Linked DNA regions of Homo sapiens: region 1 is linked to region 2. The links are contacts of gene promoters, found by promoter capture Hi-C in human tissues and cell types (Jung and others, 2019). All regions are on one chromosome and are shown on one strand. The core of a region is centred on a gene start or on the middle of the fragment in contact, and the rest is flanking DNA. Distances in the headings are between cores, read along the strand shown. Region 1 overlaps IPO9 (importin 9). Region 2 holds the start of ARL8A (ARF like GTPase 8A).

Evidence for each region. Contacts are between HindIII fragments. The study calls those that stand out against the background at their distance.
Region 1: a fragment that was not itself captured here is called in contact with the fragment with the promoter of ARL8A in region 2 in 2 of the 25 tissues and cell types used here (dorsolateral prefrontal cortex and spleen).

What each region holds. Positions count from the first base shown.
Region 1 is chr1:201,868,345-201,873,381 of GRCh38, reverse strand. It overlaps IPO9 (importin 9), which reads right to left. Exons shown (of 24, transcript NM_018085.5): 16 at 4,586-4,734; 17 at 3,664-3,792; 18 at 2,524-2,799; 19 at 2,055-2,221; 20 at 421-554. Among named protein-coding and RNA genes, the nearest start is that of MIR6739, 7.5 kb to the right of the region's middle. RefSeq lists a silencer at 4,537-4,752. The HindIII fragment of the contact is 8,088 bases long and covers 1-5,037 here.
Region 2 is chr1:202,140,971-202,146,622 of GRCh38, reverse strand. It overlaps ARL8A (ARF like GTPase 8A), which reads left to right and starts at 1,886. Exons shown (of 7, transcript NM_138795.4): 1 at 1,886-2,173. The coding sequence starts at 2,051. RefSeq lists silencers at 1,686-2,395, 2,896-2,945. The HindIII fragment of the contact is 36,256 bases long and covers 1-5,652 here.

The sequences.
Region 1 (5,037 bases), core at 1,124-3,623, 270 kb after region 2:
CCTCTGCCTCCCAGGTTCAAGCGATTCTCCTGCCTCAGCCTCCCAAGTAGCTGGGATTACAGGCGCCCACCACCATGCCTGGCTAATTTTTGTATTTTTAGTAAAGACGGGATTTCACCATGTTGGTCAGGCTAGTCTCAAACTCCTGACTTCAAGTGATCCATCCGCTCTGGCCTCCCACCAAGTGCTGGGATTACAGGCGTGAGCCACCATGCCCGGCCTATTTTTGTCCATTTTCCACAACAGGAAGAAACCGTATGTTCTGATCCCTTTTACCTAAGTTTCCTGCTTCTTCTTTATCAAACCCATCACCAACAATTGTTTTAAAAATATACACCACAGTGCATTCCTTCCCTTCACCCAGGTATCCTTAGCCCCTTCGTATAGGGAGAGGATTGGAAGAATCGCAGCAGCACCCACTTTTGGCTGACTTAGAGCGGGTGCGGATGCCCTCATCCATGCTGTAGATCTCCTCTCCCTTCACACGGATATCCTGTAGCCGTTTGTCATCTGCATTGATGCCATGCTGGAGCAGCTTACAGAGTGCCACAGAGCTGGCAAGGAAGATCCAAAAAAAGGTCAATCAGCCGCCCATCTCGAGTTCACTCCAAGGAGATAAGCAATTATGTCCTAAGACCCTCTATTTGATAGTGAAAATTCCGTTAACAACTAATTAGGAGAGCTAAGAGAGTTCAGCTGAAAATGAGATTTTAGAGTTCATGAGGTGGTTTAATGAGATCTGTGCTTTTTTGTTGTTGTTGTTGTTGTTGTTGTTTTTGAGATAGGGTCTCATTCTGTCACCCAGGCTGAGTGCAGTGGTGTGATCATGGTTCACTGCAGCCTTGACCTCCCTGGGTTCAGGTGATCCTCCCACCTCAGCCTCCCAAGTAGCTGGGACTATAGGCATGCGCCACCGTGCCTGGCTAATTTTTGTATTTTTTTGGTAGACACAGGTTTCACCATGTTGCCCGGGTGGGTCTCAAGCAATTCGCCCACCTCAGTCTTCCAAAGTGCCGGGATTACAGGTGACCTGTTCTTCTTGAACAAAGCTAAGGTTGCACCATATTGTAAGGTGCAACGAGGTGATAAGAATCAGTGGTATAAAAATCCAGGATAAAAAGTTAGGAAGCCAGGGTTAGAAGGTTGGGTTTTTTATTTTTATTTTTCTGAGACAATTTCGCTCGTCGCCCAGGCTGAAGTGCAATGGCGTGATCTGCCTCCTTGGTTCAAGCGATTCTCCTGCCTTAGCCTCCCGAGTAGCTGGGATTACAGGCACCCACAACCACATCCAGCTATTTTTTGTATTTATAGTAGAGACAGTGTTTCACCATGTTTGCCAGGCTGGTCTTGAACTCCTGACCTCCGGTGATCTGCTCGCCTCAGCCTCCTAAAGTGCTGGGATTATAGGTGTGAGCCACTGTGCCTGGCCAAGGCTTGGGCTTATAAAGGAAAATAAGCCACTAGCAGCACTTAGCTGTGTGAAGTCTGTGGTAGAGAAGGGATCTCTTGTAAACAGAGACCAGAAATATATAGTCTACCTGTGTTGACTGTCTTTTGGGGATTTCAAGATGGCAGCTATTCACATATGTGCGTTAGCAATAAAGAAAGACAGGGAAAAGGGAATACAGAGAGCCATTTGAAATGTCAAACAAAAATCAATGGAGCAAATCAGGAAAAAAAAGAAATATGTGTCAGGAGCAGTGGCTCACACCTGTAATCCCAGCACTGTGGGAGGCCGAAGTGGGTGGATCACTTGAGGTCAGGAGTTCAAGACCAGCCTGGCCAACATGGTGAAACCCTCTCTCTACTAAAAACACACACACAAAGAATTCACTGGGTATGGTGGTGCATGTGTGTAATATTCGGACGGCTGAGGCAGGAGCAGGAGAATTGCTTGAACCTAGGAGGTGGAGGTTGCAGTGAGCCAAGATTGTGCCACTGCACTCCAGCCTGGGCGACAGAGCGAGACTGTCTCAAAAAAAAAAAAAAAAAAAAAAAAAAAAAAGAAATATGAGTGGTGGCAGAATGCCCAGAAAAGAAAGATGAGGTTCTACCTGACTTTGCCTTCATACTGTCCATAGAACAGGTGCTGTCGGCTTGTCCACTCAGCCATCACAAACTCTAGAGCAGGTTTGCCAGTAGGTCCTGGGAGGCTACACAGGAACTCCAAGAGAGGTTCTAGCTGAGTGTGCACCAGATGAGCGAACACCATGATCAGGGACTAGGAGAAAATAAGGACATTTGCTTCAGGGAAATCAATTTCAGAGACATAGGAGATGAGAGGGAACTGGCCAGTCAGATAAGAAATACAGTCTACACTGAGGGTATTATCCACAGGACAAGAAAACATGGGAGATTTCCTTGTCCATGTTTCTTAGGCCAAACAGATCAGACAGGTCCCATTTTACTTAACTGTCCTACAAGGCTAGTAAGAGGGTAAAATAAAATAACTCAGGACCAAAATACGAATTTTCATTTCTATCAGCCAGGGAGTAGGAAGCCCACTCCCCACTGCTCTCTTACCTGCATGACACTGAGCGTCTCTGCCTGCTGCATCTTACTGAGGATGGCACGAAGAATCTGGTCTAGATTCTCCCCGAGTTCCCGCCCTGCCTTGGAGATGAGGGTGGAAACAAGGCGGCCCACAAAGGCCGCAGTGAACTCTGAGGTGCGGGGGTCCAGGAGCTGGCTCACCACTTGCATCACATACCACAGTCCATTGTGGCCCTGCTCATCATGCCACTGGGCTACTTGTTCCAGGGTCACTGACACATAGGCCCGCAAGCACTCTCCGCCATTCTGGGGAGACAGGGGTGGCAAGCAAGATTAGTAATCGAGGGACAGATGCCAGAAGGCCCTCAGTCTGTATAAACAAATGTTCCCAGAGGCCTATGCCTCATAAAAGCGGTGAGTCTATAATGTTTGTGGTGGGCTCATACCACTGGAGTTAAGACATTTACTGTTACAGACATAGACGTGCATTACATAATTCCCCCTTTACCTAATCAGCTATCTCACAAATGTGTATATATATTTTTTTAATCACAAGGGACAATGGCCAAGCAAAATGAATTTTAATCATAAAGGTCTACCTCTGGTACTAAAAAAATATGCTTACAATCTTGGAATAACTGGGGATACTGTAGGTCTTTATATAGGTCTTACACAAACCACTAGTTGCCTAGGGATTTCCAAGCTGATCAATATTCACTGGCAAGTTCCTATAACCTTTCTAATCAATCACAGTAGCAGACACCTGAAAAGGTAACCAATTCACCCAAGAAACAAAAAGAGAAAAAATATTCAGGCATGTCTCCCCTCTCTAGAGGCCCATCACTCTGCTGACTTTATTACTAGAAGAAATATGCAGAAAGACTTTCTTATGGCCCCAAGTCTAGATGTCTGTAACCTCTTTCACAGTAGCAATACCCAATACAGATGGGCAGGGTGCTTGGTATCCATATTTTTAAAAACTGTAACATGCTCCAAAGCACCAGAAATGCTTGGCTTTTGCAGACTGAACCCTTCCTGAATCTGCTAAGTAAATATGGAGTTGAGAATTCCGTATTTCAAAAGCATAAAACCATGTCAGATTTCTCAGCATAGTATAAGCCCATGGCTGGGGAGCTATCTTCCCTCTTCTACTCTCCATGTCTCAGATACCTGCATGGTGGCATTGTCATCTGTGTGAAGGGTACACTGTGCCACAGCAGGGAAAGCTTGGCAGATGAGAAGCTGGGAAAGGGGAGGCTTTGTATTTCGTACTACTGTTGTCAGGATATCAATGGCTGTCTGAAAGAGAGAAGAAAAAGAAAAGTCAGAATTGCCTCTGGGGTGGGGGTTGCCCAACAACCAAGATCCTTACTGGATGGGTATTACATAGCAACCCAGAGAAAGCTTATTAATGAAAGGCAAGTTTCCAAAATAAAAGGAATAATTAAATGGGTAGTACTCTCAGCCTTCTCATAATAGCTTACTAATTGATTAGCCATAGGGGTGGGCAGTAGTACATGGTAGTGGATTGGATAACCAGGTGACATACTTAGTGGCACTGTGTAAAGGTGGCACTCTGTTCAATTCACTGAGGGTACCTCTGGAACAAGAAGAGCCATTTTCTTTCTTTCTTTCTTTTTGAGGCAGTCTCGCTCTGTCACCCAGGCTGGAGTGCAGTGGCACGATCTCCACTCACTGCAACCTCTGCCTCCTGGGTTCAAGTGATTCTCCTGCCTCAGCCTCTTGAGTAGCTGGTACTGCAGATGCCTGCCACCATGCCCGGCTAATTTTTGTATTTTTAGTAGAGATAGGGTTTCACCACATTGGCCAGGCTGGTCTCGAACTCCTGACCTTGTGATCCACCCACCTCGGCCTCCCAAAGTGCTGCAATTATAGGCATGAGCCACCGCGCCAAGCCAAGCCATTTTCTTAAAGCTTCAGAGAATCACCCACTGTCCTTGCAGGCAAAAGAGCTCAGCAAAATCACCCCATGAATCTCTAACGCTATTAGGTTCTTGTCAGCTAGATGCATCTGTGGGTGGCACTTGTAGATCTCTCTCACACACACACACACACACACACGGCCACTTACCGCACAAAGCCCTGCAGGAATCTTGTCTGCTGGGGCCTGCATTATGCTGACCAGAGTGGGAATCAGCCTCATTTGCATTGGGCCCTGACAGGCTTCAATCTGGGACAGCTCCTTGAAGATGTCCTGAGCCAGTGAGGCGACGACGGGATCTGAAGTGGATAAGGCAACACGGAATCCCCCTGCCTGATGGTCTGCATCTGCTTCTCGCTTAATGATGCCTGTTGTTTGGCCCTAACCTAAGTTAACAACTTCTGCATTGATTACTTATCACATACCCGGGACCTAGTGGGGCCACATGAATAACCTGAAAGAACAGGAGAGATCCTAAATCTGCAAGAGGTACACTTTGTATGGCTTCATTAAAGTAGGGACTAGTCATTAACAGCTACTCATAAAACAAAATGTGGCTTTTTCTAGAGAAAAATCTTTAAAGTCTTTATTCTTGTGAAACC
Region 2 (5,652 bases), core at 637-3,136:
GGACGTGGTAGCACACACCTGTAGTCAGCTATTCGGGAGGCTGAGGCAGAAGAATTGTTTGAACCCTGGAGGTGGAGGGTGCAGTGAGCTATCATGCCACTGCACTCCAGCCTGGATGACAGAGCAAGACTCCATCTCAAAAAAAAAAGAAAAAAGAAAAAAAGAAATGTGTTGCTCACAGTTCTGGAAGCTGGGAAGTCTAGGATCAAGACCCTTGCAGACTCAGTGTCTGGCTATTAGGCAGAGCCTTCTTTCTGTCCTTGCATGGTGAAAAGGTTGTGGGCTGGTATTCTTCCCCCTAATCCCACCGGCCCCCTTTATAAGGCTCTACCCTCATGACTTAATCACCTCCTAATACCATCACTTTAGGGATTAGGACTTCAACCTATGAATTTGGGGGGACACAAACATTCAGTCCATAGCCTTTATCTTAGGAGCTAGAGGAGGACTTATAAAGGGCAGAGGTTAGAAAGATGGTGCTTAATAAACCAGAATATTGGCCAGGCTCATGCCTGTAATCCCAGCACTTTGGGAGGCTGAGGCAGGCAGATGGCTTGAGCTCAGGGCTTCGAGACCAGCCTGGACAACATGGCAAAACCCCGTCTCTACCAAATATACAAAAATTAGGCTGGCATGGTGGCGCATGCCTGTAGTCCCAGCTACTCGGGAGGCTGAGGTAGAAGAATCACCTGAGCCCGAGGAGGTGGAGGCTGCAGTGAGTCGAGATCCCACCGCTGCACTCCAGCCTGGGCCACACAGTGAGACCCCATCAAAAAAAAAAAAAAAAACAATATTATGCTAGCCGAAACCTTGTGATTCTTCTACTTTGGTAACTGTTTGACTATTTGGGGTCATCTAACTCCAGTTGATTGGACAGATATGGTTGATATTGATAGTTTACCCACTTTTGACTAAAACAATAGACTACATATGACTACATTTGAAAACCAAACCCCAACGGGCAGCCAGCATAGGCTGGGGACTGCCCGAAGCCTGAGCCTACCCGGGACTGCCAGCTGAGGTTGTCAGCCTGCCTGAGCAGGTCCTATGGGTGGGTCTTGCAAGGAGAGGGGCAGGAGTAAGGCATCTTTGCAGGCACTCCAGACCCACTTCAAGAGGAGAACTATCACTTCTCCTCCTGAAGAATACTCTGCTTTTCACCAAAACAGGGCAACATTTTCCTTTGTCACAGACGTTCCTCACTGAAAACCCCCTGCCAGGACTGTATCTGTTTGGGTATCTTGGGGATGCTGGTAAAAATCCGGAGCAAGTTCAAGCGTCCGTTTCACTTGGGGCCAGAGGCTTCCTAACAAGTGGTCGGGGTAAATTGTGGTGAACAAAACAAGATGGAGTATTAAAAGACCCGAATACGGTTGTCCCTCTGCACTGGGTGCATTTTGAGAGGATGGGACTGTACCCAGGAATGCTCAGAGGCAAGGGTTCAGGGACAAAAAAGCCTCCATCTGCCTCCCTGTCGTAGAGATCTCATCTCCGTGTCCTGGGAAGTGGGTGACCCACTCTCCTTCAACCTGAAAAGGCTCCTGCTTAACCGGAACCTCACCCACCTCGAGCCCACCACCCTTTAAGAAAGGGGGTGCCAGTCAGGGCGCGGCAGTCGGGGACAGGGTCTAAAATAAATTAGACCCCATTTCCCAAGCGCCTCTCGACGCCAGCTGCCGGTCAACCCCCGCCGCTGAAGCCTGCGGATTCCCTGCTCACCCCACCTGCGGATTCCCTGCTCACCCCACCTGCGGGTGCGGCCCCTGGCCCCCCGGCTCCAGCGAGGGAGGAGCGCGCGCTCGGGTGCGAGCAGGACACGGCCCGGCCGCGAGGGAGGGCGGCGGCGGCGGCGGAGGAGGAGGGCGCGGAAGCCACACCCATCGGCGAGCCGATTCCGGGGCAGCGAGTCGTCGGCAGCCGCGCTCGAGCCTCCGCCCGCACCGAGCCGCGGGACCCGGGCCGTACCGGGGAGGGGCCGCTCCGGGCCGCAGCGCGAGGGCAGCGAGGGGCGGCGGGGACCTGGCACCGGGCGGGGCCGGCGGCAGCGACCATGATCGCTTTGTTCAACAAGCTGCTGGACTGGTTCAAGGCCCTATTCTGGAAGGAGGAGATGGAGCTCACGCTGGTCGGGCTTCAGTACTCGGGCAAGACCACCTTCGTCAACGTGATCGCGGTACGAGGGCGTCGGGCGCGGGGTCCCCGGGCGCGGGCCGCGGGTCGGGCCTGTCCCCGCCCGCGCCGCGCCCTGCTGAGCCGGGGTCGCCGCCTGGCATAGCCGGGCACGGCCGGGCGCCGGGCGGGGGAGGAGCCGGCCCCGAGCGCTTGGGGCCTAGTACGGCCCGTGCCGTGGGGGACCGGGGCGGCGCGCGACCCGCTCTCTCACCCGGGCCGGTACTGCACGGCTGGGGGCAGGGGAAGGGGGACGAACAGACAGGGCCGGTGCCACGGGGCAGGCGGCACCGAGGGGCTCTCGAAGCAGGAGGGACCCGCTGCCGGCTGAGACGGGCCCCCTCTGGCCCCCGCGCAAGGGGGCATGACGGGGCGAAAGTGCACGGGCCTTCCTGTCCCGCGGGTAGAGGGTCACGGGACGGGGCGGCCGAGAGGCTTGAGGAGGGGGTTTGGGCAAGCCCAGCCCCACCCAGAGGGCTTAACCCCTCCTTGCCGGAAGAGGAAGCCCCGGCCCTATTGAGGGGGAGGGGAGGTATCCCCCGGGGTAGAGGAGTCAGCTGAGGCCCTTGGCTCAAGCCCAGACTCCTCCCCAACTTCTCCCCGACCCGCAGTGTCTAGCCGGGGGTCCAGGGAGGATCGCATGGTAACGGGAGTTTGGAGACTCCGTCTGGCTCAGAAGTTTGCAGGAGCAGGTGCTCCCGACAAGAGAGGATGAGGTGTAGGGGCACGGCCCACTGGGGCCTTGGGAGAGTGGCTCTAAGGGCTTTGGGTCGTCAACACTGAAGTGGGTGATTGTAAGTCTTTCAGCGCCAGGGGAGTGGTGGGGAAGGAGTTAAAATCTCTCTCAAAAAAGGGGAAGATGAGCTCCATGGGTGTGAGCTGAGGCTGCCGTAATGGCTGCGGCCTGCCTGTCAGAGCCAGGCTAGACAGGGCTTGTGGGTCGAGGAAGCATGGGACAGGGGCTGGGGTTGTCCAGGGACCTGGCCCCAGTCCCAAAGCTGAGGTTTCCCACAACTGTGAGTTGGCCAGATAGTAACCAAAGATACTGATGAGATAGGTCAGCAGAGGAATGTATCCAGCCGGCCTAGGTACCTCTACCTGTCCGTGTTGTTGCCCCACCTTGCAGAAGATGGGCCTCCTCGACAGTTCTCAGCGTCCTAGAAGGCAGGGGACGTCACTTCATTGGACCTGAGGCATGAAGGCAGATGGAAAGCTCGAGGGGCGGGCATCCTGTGGTTACACAATTGAACACTGGCTTCCTTTCCCAAACATGCTCTGCAAATGACCTCTGCCCTTTCTCGACCCAGTGTCTCCTGTCTCCTGACCTGACAGGGCAGGATCTTCAGGCCAATGCTGCGGTTTTGGCACAGTAATTTTCGGAGCTAACACCCCTGGGCTCTGTCTGCCTAGGCTCTGCCCTTGGGGTCAGAGACCCTCTGGTTAAACTTGGCATTGACTTAGGCTCTTGGATTCCCAGAGCAGGCACATAACACCTGGACTCTGACCTGACTCTGCAGGCCTAGGTGGCTTGGGTTCTAGGCGTTTAGGTCTGAGAAATGCAGCTGGGCCTAGGTATCTCCTCGTTCCCCAGGGTGTTACTATAGCTGTGCTCTGGGACAGGGATCCACAGGTACCCGGGTGGGTTCGGTTTCTGGGTCTGCAGTTGAGCCTTTGACAGGAGGGCCCCCTCTAGACCAGCATCATATCCAGAGAGTTGGAGACTATAGCAGGCCAGAAACAGAACCCAAGAGTCCCAAATTCCCCTGCCAGGGTCAAGAGTTCCTGTGATATACAGGAAAAGCACCCCATCTCCAGCCCACAAGGTCCCCTTTTTAATCTTAAATTTGCCACTTCCGCTGGCACATTCTAAAAGAGCAGGCAAGCTAAATTCCCTTCTTTAGAGAGGCTTCCCAAGGAAAACCACCCCATGTGGGCTGCAGTTGGAATTCCAGTGTCCCGGTCACTCCAGTGTTTTCAGATCCTCTGGGGCTACCACACTGGCATTGCTGCCCACCCCGTGTATAATCACAGTTGAGTGTCTTCCAGAAAGAAACGAAGAGTTGGGACCCCTGGGCTCTGTTCCCATGCCTACCACTGAATTTCTGAATTACCTGTGCCTGTTCATTTGGCCTCTGTTTGTCTCAGATCTTTCGCCATTGGGTTTTTTCTACTCACCCTATGAGGTCTGGCTGTAAATAGAAATTGAGTTTAGTGTGTCTAGCTGCTCAGCAGGTTAATGTGAGCTGGAAAGAAATTATATACACTGCTTCTAAGAACCTGAAACATCAGCCGGGCATGGTGGCTCACGCCTGTAATCCCAGCAATTGGGAGGCCAAAGTGGGGGTTTCACCTGAGGCTAGGAGTTCGAGACCAGCCTGGCCAACATGGTGAAACCCCATCTCTACTAAAAATACAAAAATTAGCCAGGCATGGTGGTGGCCACCTGTAATCCCAGCTACTTGGGAGGCTGAGGCAAGAGAATTGCTTGAACCCAGGAGGCGGAGGCTGCAGTGAGTTAAGATCGTGCCGCCACTGCACTCCAGCCTGGGCAACAAGAGCGAAACTCCGTCTCAAAAAAAAAAAAGGAACCTAAAACATCCTTTGAGTTCTGAAAAAGTTGTGATGCTAGAAAAGTGGGAGATGTTTTGTCCTAGGAAACAACAGGGTCATTTTCAAATATTTAAAAGTGTCAAAGACTGTCCTATGGAATAACTAGTCTTGGAGTGCCCAAGGGGACTTAGGAACAATGGGTGGACATTCTAGGAATGATAGATTTTTTTTTCTTTTTTTTCTTTTTTCTTTTTTTTTTTTGAGACAGAGTGTTGCTCTATCACCCAGGCTGGGAGTGCAGTGGTACAGTCTCGGCTCACTGCAACCTCCGCCTCCCAGGCTCAAGCAATTCTCCTGCCTCAGTCTCCCGAGTAGCTGGGATTACAGGCATACACCACCATGCCTGGCTAATTTTTGTATTTTTAGTAGAGATGGGGTTTCGTCATGTTGGCCAGGCTGGTCTCGAACCCCTGACCTCAGGTGATCTGCCTGCCTCAGCCTCCCAAAGTGCTGGGATTACAGGTATGAGCCACCATGTCCGGCCGGATTGTTAACTCAATATAAAGAACTTTCTGATAGTTGGAACTGACCCAAGAGGGGATGGGGCAGAAGGGACTGAAGTCTGAGACAAGAGGTTGGGCTGCATGACTTCAGGTTACTTCCAACCTTAAATGAGGAGCCTATGAGACAGGGAGGCATTAGCAGGGAAATTAAGTCATAATCTGATTCCACCTTAGCTCCGATTCACAGCTGAACAAGACCTACTGGTGCCGGGGAGCCTGGCTCCTTGAAGGTCCTCCCAGCATCCCCCTCTGCCAAGGTCACATTCTGCCAGGCTGGGCTTCTCATTTACTTGGTAGCCTGTGGATCTTCTAGTTGCCAAAGAGCAGTGATGGTTCCCCATGCTATATCGAAACCATTTCCAAGCATGTT